2 separate regions of the Homo sapiens genome follow, and region 1 is linked to region 2. The links are contacts of gene promoters, found by promoter capture Hi-C in human tissues and cell types (Jung and others, 2019). All regions are on one chromosome and are shown on one strand. The core of a region is centred on a gene start or on the middle of the fragment in contact, and the rest is flanking DNA. Distances in the headings are between cores, read along the strand shown. Region 1 has its middle 28 kb from the start of OR8G1. Region 2 holds the start of VWA5A (von Willebrand factor A domain containing 5A).

Evidence for each region. The method cuts DNA at HindIII sites, captures the fragments that hold promoters and counts their contacts. A contact is called where the count stands out against the background at its distance.
Region 1: a contact is called between a fragment that was not itself captured here and the fragment with the promoter of VWA5A in region 2, in 2 of the 25 tissues and cell types used here (H1 embryonic stem cells and thymus).

Annotation. Positions count from the first base shown.
Region 1 is chr11:124,210,315-124,215,035 of GRCh38, forward strand. It overlaps the pseudogene OR8G3. Among named protein-coding and RNA genes, the nearest start is that of OR8G1, 28 kb to the right of the region's middle. The HindIII fragment of the contact is 4,968 bases long and covers 1-4,055 here.
Region 2 is chr11:124,112,117-124,116,710 of GRCh38, forward strand. VWA5A (von Willebrand factor A domain containing 5A) reads left to right here and starts at 3,334. Exons shown (of 19, transcript NM_001130142.2): 1 at 3,334-3,366; 2 at 4,450-4,564. The HindIII fragment of the contact is 8,575 bases long and covers 1-4,594 here.

The sequences.
Region 1 (4,721 bases), core at 322-2,821, 96 kb after region 2:
ACTAGAGGTCAGGAGTGTCAGGCTTGGTGGTTGTCCAGATGCAGGGCAGACCCCTGAGACTCAACCCCCAGTGCAGAGCCTTTTCTCAGGGCACAGGAACCTGGCACCATCAGCAAGGTGGGCATGGTGGCCATGCCACTGGCCAGGTCCCCAAAGCAGATGTTACCTCTGGCCCATCCTCCACACTCCATCTCCAACCACAGCACCATGCTGGGCCCAGCTCTGCCTCGGGGCCATCTCTGCCAGGCCTCCATGCCCAACCGTGCTGCTCCCCCACCAGGAAACTCGGCCCAGCCCCTTCGTGGTGGTCCCCACCATGACAGGCTCCAGGTGGCTTCCAGGGGCGGGGTCCAGAGACTGTCTGCCTCCTCCCCAGCCCCTCCCCACAGCAGTGGCAGGCAAGAGTGGTGACATGGGGCCAGGGTCAGGAGCCACAGAGTCTCTAGGCCTAGGGGTGGGTCTTACCTGGTCATGCAAAGGTGGGGGTGGCTCAGTTGCCTGCCTTGGAGACATGGGGGACAGGGGTCCCACCACCGTTATTGCTGCCCCTGCAGCCTCTCCTGCCACAACCGCTGGCCTCCCCACTGCAGCTGGCACCATGGTAGCGGCGGTTCTGGATGGCCTACTTTTGCCATCAATATAACGTTTAACAAAACATGAAATATAATTTTACTTCCAAAATAATTTAGTTTTATATAAGTACAAAAATAACTTCTGTAACACATATGTCTTTATTGTTCCTCAATATCATTCTTATTTTTTGATGAAAAAAGTCATCAACTCTCCTTGTTAGGCTTACTAGGAACTCCTCAGGGTCTTGGCAATATCTATCATATTTTAACTTGGGGACTGAATGAAAGCATTTTCTTCTTCATTGATCTGAAAGGAAACAGCCCTCAAGTTAAAACATTTCAAGCATTACTGTTTTATGAATACATCATGATATCAAAATATCATTAGTAGAGGTAAATGAAAATGAAAACTTTCAAATTTTAGAAACATTTGTTGTTATTTCTGATTTTCTATTTTCCCCTTGTGACAAATCACTTTAGACAATTCCTTTAATGTATGTTTTAAAAATTGGCTGAAATTTTGAACTTTTCATTGTCTCACTAAAGAGATGAAACTCACTAGAGCTCCAACAAAGTCTCTCACATCCTCATTTCCAATCTGTAATATTACAAGAACAATGAATCACAACATATGCCAATAGGGAAACACTTGAGAACCAAGAGGGGGAAAGGGAAATTCTAATTGTTTCTTTTCCCAAGAGCTGACATTTGTGGGAATAGAATCTAGAGGGAGATCATTATCATTGTTTGTTCCCTATCAGACTCTTACTCTTACCCAGCATATAAAATCCTCACATCAGCCACCCTTTGCAGAGTGCCAGATGGCTTTAGGCATCAGCTTTGTCAGAGATCAGGATGAATGACTCAAAATAATTGCCAAGGAGACTTTTGGGCTATGACCTCCTCGTACCATCAGATTCATTTTTCCCTCCAGAGCAATGGAGAAGAAAAATGTACAACCCTGGACCCTGGCAGAAAGGATGGGTATGTATGAGTCCCAGTCTTTGACTTTAAAATCTTGGAGTCTCCTGTTCCAGCTTCTTTCGCAGTGCAAAGAGAGATGCACACAGCTATTCATCTGTCTCTCCCTGTCCTTATTCTCACATTCACATGCCTTGATGAGCAGTGGTTCCCTTGTCATCTACTTGTTCTCTGCAATATACATTTATGACAAACACTTCTGTGTTTACTCATTTCAATTCAGGCAGTAAGAGGGTTTTTATTCAGTTATTTTGAATCCATATTTACATATCTCTAAGCTTCTTTGAGCAATTTTATTGAACATATATGTATTGAGTTGCTATATGCAAGGCACTACACCAAGCACTATATTGAATTTATAGTCTAGTACAGAAGAAAAGCAAATAAATAAATAATAATAACATAGAATGAAATTAGTGTTACATGTAAACATAAGAAATATATGTATGGACATAGAAAATGGCCTTATTAAGTAGAGTTTGCACTATTAAATGGCCTTATTAAGTAGAGTTTGCACTATTAAAGCCCTTAACTAAAGAGCCTTAACTATTAAATAGGATGTCATAGGCTACAGATGATAGACAAAGAGAAAAATTAAAGGGGCATCATGAGTTAAAACTGAGAGAGTACCAAATGGCCAAATCATGTAATAGCCAAATCATATAGTACTTGTTGGGACATAAAAGAAGAAAACTTTTATTTTGGTTGCCAGATGATAACAATCTTTGAATAAGAGATATTGATTTGAGCTTCCTATGAGGAAATGAAAAATAGTGCTGATTTAAAGAGGTTACTGTTCAGTAAAAAAAATAATTCTGAATCTCTGTGTTAATATGTGTATCCATGTAGGAAGGAGCAAAAACAAGATATGCTGAGGGAGGGAAAAAACCTTCAGCCATCATTATTGGAATAAAAATTTGAGCAAATAAAAAATATTTCAGAGAAGGCTCAATAGATTACAGTTAAAATAACACTGACATTTATTAAGTTCTTACCAACAGATGGGAACTATGCGTCTTTTGATTTTTACATGAGAATGATATTAACATTTCTACTTTTTAGAGGCCTGAAGACGAGAAGTAATTTTCTCAAGATCACACAGCATGTATATGGTTGAGATGATATTTTAACCCAGACTGCCTGATCTAATATCATAGCCCATTAGAATTTTAAATCATGAAATATTGGAACCAGAAGATATATTAAAGCTGATTGAATTCAAGCACCCATCTCATGCTGTGTCCTTGAATAATGTCTGCTAAATGGTTATACAAGCTGACTCTGACATTTCTGGCTATAAGTAAATTAAGGTGTGTTTGACTTTTGGAATGTTCTTTTTTGTTGTGAAACCAAATATTTCTCTCCATCATTTGAAGCACTTAGTTTTTATTTTTTCTCTCTTAGAGACATATACAAGGAGCCCTATACCTCTTAGATATTTTGAACATTTGGATATAAATGCCATGTGCCACATATATTTATATTGTGCTAGCTAAAACCTCAGTTATGTCAGTCATTATTCAAATGACAATATTTTTAGATCATGTTTCTGATATTGTCCAGTTTTTCTATATTCCACATAAAATATTAAACCCTAAACTGAAAACACTAATCCAGCTATTGCTGGAGTGTTACATAAGACCATAAATTTCTTTCATCTAGAATCTACTAATTTTCTTTGCAAAAGTAAATATGTATTAGCCTTTTTTGAAAATCCACATCACACTGTTGACTAGTTTTATATTTAGACTAAGATTGTGAATTGTATTTTGCATGTGCTCTACTAATCCACATAGCCATTATCTTTAAATTTTATAGTGAGCACAGGCAAAATATATGATTATAAAAAGTGATCAGTATAGAAGATATCTAATGTTTGTTTTCAGAAAGCCTTCTCGGTTTTGGAGAATATGAGTACTTTTCTGATCTTCTCCAATTCAGCCACGAAGTACACTTAATGTAGACCAATCATAGTTTTCTGCTCCCCTGGCCAGAATGGGATAATAGGTGACCTGCATTGAGACCATTGTATTACTCCCTTGGGATTATTCAAATTAGAACAAGAGAGGCAATTCCCTCACTGTTGGAAAAGCTCCTGAGGTATAAGGATGCTATCAGCCACGCAGTTATGTTTTTGCCTTGCAGAATAGCAGGTCTGGGTGAAGAAAGTTGAGAAATAAAGAGCTGAAATTTCGGGCAGAATGAGACAGGTCATTACCCAGTTCTTCAGCTATTTTTAGTTGAAATTCTCATAAGAAAAGTAACTCAGACTAATATAACTAATTTTATAAACTCATGCCTTCTATTTTTAGATAGATTAGATAGATAGATTAGATAGATAGATAGATAGATAGATAGATATGAGGTCTTGCTTTGTTGCCCAGGCTTGTCTCAAACAAGTGATCCTCCCACCTCAGCTTCCCAAAGTGCTGGGATTACAGGCATGAGCCACTGCGCCCGGCCAGGACTTCTATATTGATACATTATAAGGAGCATTTGGTTCTCTTTCCTAATCTGAGTAAAATGAAAATCTCATGGCTATGCTATTTGATGTGCATGACGTATTTATATCCTAGAGAATATGGTAGGAAAGAAAAGAATCCTCTGAAATAACATTAGTAGCTTGCTTTCTTATTGAGGTCAAAAATTGGTGTTTTCTCTTAAAAGGATATGAACTAAATTTTAATGTTTTTGATGTCTGCAGTTCCTCCTCTGGTCGACCAGACTATTGTCTATTAAACAGTAGCAAGAGAGGCTCAGGAGACCACTGCATTCTGTTTCTCCTCTGATAAGGTATAGAATATGCAATGATTTACAAATAATTTCTCTCTCACACACAAACACATTCAATTTCTCTTTTTAAAACTTAGAGACTGTTGACAAGATCGTGGACCCTGGAAACCATTCCTCAGTGACTGAGTCCATTCTGGCTGGGCTCTCAGAACAGCCAGAGCTCCAGCTGCGCCTCTTCCTCCTGTTCTTAGGAATCTGTGTGGTCACAGTGGTGGGCAACTTGGGCATGATCACACTGATTGGGCTCAGTTCTCACCTGCACACACCTATGTACTATTTCCTCAGCAGTCTGTCCTTCATTGACTTCTGCCATTCCACTGTCATTACCCCTAAGATGCTGGTGAACTTTGCGACAGAGAAGAACATCATCTCCTA
Region 2 (4,594 bases), core at 2,084-4,583:
AACATACATATAGACTAGGTATTATCAGTTCATTCTACAAATGATGACATGGACTCGGAGTAGTTAAATTGCTTTCTCACAATTATACAACTATTAAGAACTAGAGGTAGGACTCAAGCCCCAGACTGAATCTAAAGCTCATAGACTTAATTATGTGACAGACCGAGGTAGATCCTGATAAATTAGAACCTGGTTTCTTGTTTTCTCTACAATTTTCCGAACCTCTGGATGAGCAATATATGTTCTTTACAAGCCCTCATAGATTTTTAGACACTTGAGCTGCATCCTGCCTATCCCCTTTGGCATTTGTCTAGGCTTTGGGTTTGTCAGGAGCATATTTGCTTGTAATCGATGAAAATTGTTACTTTTAAGCAATGGTCACTCTCATCCAAGAAATTTCTGACAAACTACTAAGTGATTTGTGATCACAGACATTATTCCTGTCTGTAATTAATGTAGTTTGACATACTATGTAAAACACTTAGCACTGGTTTCAAATAGGAACTCAATATATAGTACTATGCATATTTTTAAATTCACTCTATCTATCCATTCATTCATGATAAGTTTCTGCTGAGCCCAGGTTGTCTGTGATATCTTCAAACACTTAATTTCCAAGTTATCGGTGATCATATGAAAATTATACCTATTAATTATAATTGTTATCACCAATATGTAATAAATGCTTATAAGATTTGTGCACGTCTGAGCATTTGTTATTTGAGCTTTTGAAATCTATTCTCCAGTATCTATAGTGGATTGCAATCACAAGACCTAAGCGTATATACAACCACTGGGATTTGTATGTATTTATTCATTAAACAAATAACTTCATGACTTTTAAAAACTTACTTTCTTAAAGGTTTACAATTTTAAGAGCACATAAAGGGCTCAAGTATGATAAAAACGGCAGGAAGTTTTAGGTGAATTGCTATGGAAACATCAGAGGAGAGAGAACAAGCAGAACTGGACACTTAAAACTCCATGATGATAGAGAACATTGAAGAAAGAGAATAACAGAAATGAGACAATGACCGAAACGACTTATTGAAAGCCTGTTCTGAACCAATGCTAAGCACTCTATGACAAACAGCCTTTTTATTTCAGGAAGGGAAATGGCTCTCAGAAGAACTGAAGAAAAATAAGTAGCAAACTATGATCAACATAATCAACACACACCGGCATAATTCAGGGCACATGTGTTACAGTGGTGGGCGCTAAAATAAATTGGATATTGTTCTCATAATATGCAGATTTCTATTTCCATTATAAGCAAATGTGCTTTTCATATTCTGAAGAAGATAGTTTCCTTAAAAGTCTACTTTTTAATTAATCATAATCAAATGTATTAGGGTAAGATAAGGACCCAAAGAGCTGTTATAAACCATGGAGAAATTTGTTACTTTATCCTGTAAAATTCTGTGATGATACAGTGGCTTGCTCTATGAGAGTCTCAGGGGCTCAGGATCTTTCTGTCTTGTTGCTTCTCCATTTTTAGGGGAAATGCTCCAGGCTTTATGATCTAGTCTTTATGGTTCAAGCTGGTTCAGTTACCTGCATTCACACCAATGAGCAGGAAGAGGGTAAAGTGAATGGGAAGCCATCCTCTTTTCTTTGAAAGGGCATGACATGGTGTTGCACTTATTTCTTGTACCCTATGGGCCAGAGCTTAGTTACAAGGCCACACCAGCTTTAAGGGAGGCTAGGCAATGTTTTTATTCTGAATGGTCATAGACATTGTGAAACTTGGGGTTCCTGTTAGTATAAAAAAGAAGGTGAGAATCAACCTTGAGGAATGCCTGGCAACACTAAGACAGACTTTTAAGTGAAGATATCTCATCTATATCGGTTTAATTGTGTATATTGTGCTAGGTTATGGGAATTTTCACATAGTTGTTTTTTCAACAACCAGCAACTTCTGTGTGTTTCCTGATTCAGTGCCCTCTAACCACGCTGCATGCCTGGTCTGTGGCAGACTTTTAGTGCTAAGCTCTAAGCCCAGCAGGATCAGATGATGAACTCTGCCCACGTTTCCAGCTCCTCCCTTTTGTTGCTCAGATGTTTCGGCCAATGGAAAGAAGGCACAGTCACAAGGAACAATACCAGACATGATTTCTCTCCAGAGAAAAGGATAATTTCCTCTCATAATTAGTTCAGTACATGTAAAAAACATGGTTGTAGGGCCTAGTACTGATAAAATAGAATTTGTGCTTATATTATGCTTTACTATATATGCATATATTACATGCATGTAACTGTATATACATGCATGGGTGTACATATATACACATATATACATCTATGCATGCACATCCATGTATATAAATGTGTATGTGGGTGTATATATATAAAGTATATAAATGTGTGTGTGTGTGTGTGTGTGTGTGTATATATATATATATATATATATATATAAAACTTTTATAGCCACTAAGATTCATTAGATCTCACAAAAACAATCAGTGGAGGTTTGTCATTATCCCCGTTTCAGATGAGAGAACAAATAACTTGGGGAGAGTTATTTGTATATAACAAATATCTCACAAAAACAAGTATATAACCAGTATATAACAAGTATATCCACAAAAAATACATCACAGAGACCAAAATCAAGCTGTGTTTTCCATATGTATCATGTATTCTTTATCCTATAGATTCTCGACAGCAATATGACACTTTAAGTCTCAGATTTAATAGGTTGTTTTGAAATAGAGAAGCCATGGGGACCTTGATCGCTTCTAATGTCCTTTAGCCAGGTAAATGAGCATAGACATTCTCAGTTACTTACATCGTTAACCCAAACATTTGGTTTCAGGATCCCATAAGCGACCCATGACAGGAAGACTTGGGCTTCCCTGGCTAGAGCTTCTCTCATTAGAGCAGATGTGTGTGCCTTGCACTATCTCCTTATCTTTCCCCCTGCTGTAGGGGAGGGGCAACTTGGGGGAAAATGACTCACATTAGAGATAAGGTGTCAATGATATAATCTCCATAAAGCTTTGATTAACAGGGCCCAGGACACAGTAAGCCTTTGGCAATTAAGCTTTTACAAAAATATGCAGTTTTTAATGTCATTGTTGTTGTTCCTGTTGCAGCATTTTCCCTTGCCCTCTTTGCCTGTTCTCTGATTGTTCCTTAGCAAAGAGCAAAGAAAAAAACCAAACGTTCCAAAGTCGAAGACTTTTCCTTTGATACAAACAAGCGAAAGTTCGATTATTTGTTCAATAATTTTCCGTTGATCCCTTAGTCTTGTAGTCGCTACTTTATAACCGGTCCCTAGAAGGGGGCGGTTCTTTCCGGAAATTATGACTGCAGCTGTTTTCACTCCGCTGTGACTCAGAGCGCTCCGGGCTGCAGGAGAGGAAGGTAGGGGACCAAGCTACCGGTGCAGGGCCTGGATCCAACCCCTGCTCTGGAAGACTGAGAGCTCCACATTCTAGCTCCCTTTCCCCAGTCCCCAAATTTGTAGGGGCTCCTTGAATTGCACGCCCCATGGGTGGAGGATTTCATCCTGATGTATGATCCCCAGGAAGGTTCCTGCAAGTTTGGCAGTTTAGGGGAATCTTTTGGAGGTTGAAGGAGGGATTTAGCCATCTCCTAATCTCAAGGCCCTTCTTCCTACTTTCCTTCTCTTTTACTTTACTTTTTTTCCCGCTTTCTTTCTTTGATATAGACAATTGATGTTTTCTCAGTTTCAGGATAGTGTAAGCTGAGGAAATGAGGCTGTAAGCCTCATCTACTCCAATCAGTTGCAGCCCCTAAGCCCTTCTCTATAGAAATGTAAGAGACCGACGCAGTCTCTTCTGTAAATACGTGGACATTGGAAATCTAGGACTGAATGGAAAGGTTAAATCAATCTCTGATTTTATCCAAGCCCCACTTCTTACCCCAAATCTCCTCCTTGTCTGGTTCCGAGTTCTCCACTTCACCCCTGCCACAGGCCGCAGGGGTGTGTGTGGCCGGTGGTGCCACCCAGCTCCCCTCCCACCCTCCTAGCTGCTGAGCGGCTGGTGCTGGGACTCTGCATTCCTGAAGCAGCTACCTGGCTAGGCCGGAAGCCTTGTATTCTCCCAGCTGCCTCAGATTCATGGCTTTCAGCTTGGTGGCCAGTCTCTACCTAAGCCTTGCAAGTTGCCTTTCTGAAGTGCCATCCTGAGAGACAGAACTAATTCTGACCCAAACTAATTTTGTTTGTACTGGGAAGAGTGGGGGCAAGGGTGCAGAATAGCAAGTTTTCCTCAACGGAGGATTTGTTCTGAGCTTAGAATCAGGAAGCGAAGGCTATTTCCTTGTAGGGGTGCCCTTTGCGTCTCTCTCTCTTTTACTCTAGCCACCTTGGTGAGTATTGCCCAGCCTGAGAGCTTCTCTTTCAGCTGTTTTACTCCTGTGTGAGTCTCCTGCTTTAGGCTCTCTGCTTAATGTGTTATTAGAAATTCTTCCCTCCCCCAGCCCAGCCTGTTCTACCAGAGAACTTGCCCAGGTCAGAGGTCTGCGTAGAAGCCCTTTTCTGAGCATCCTCTCCTCTCCTCACACCTGCCACTGTCCTCTGCGTTGCTGTCGAATTGTGAGTCATTTTGCCACACTCAGTTTTTAT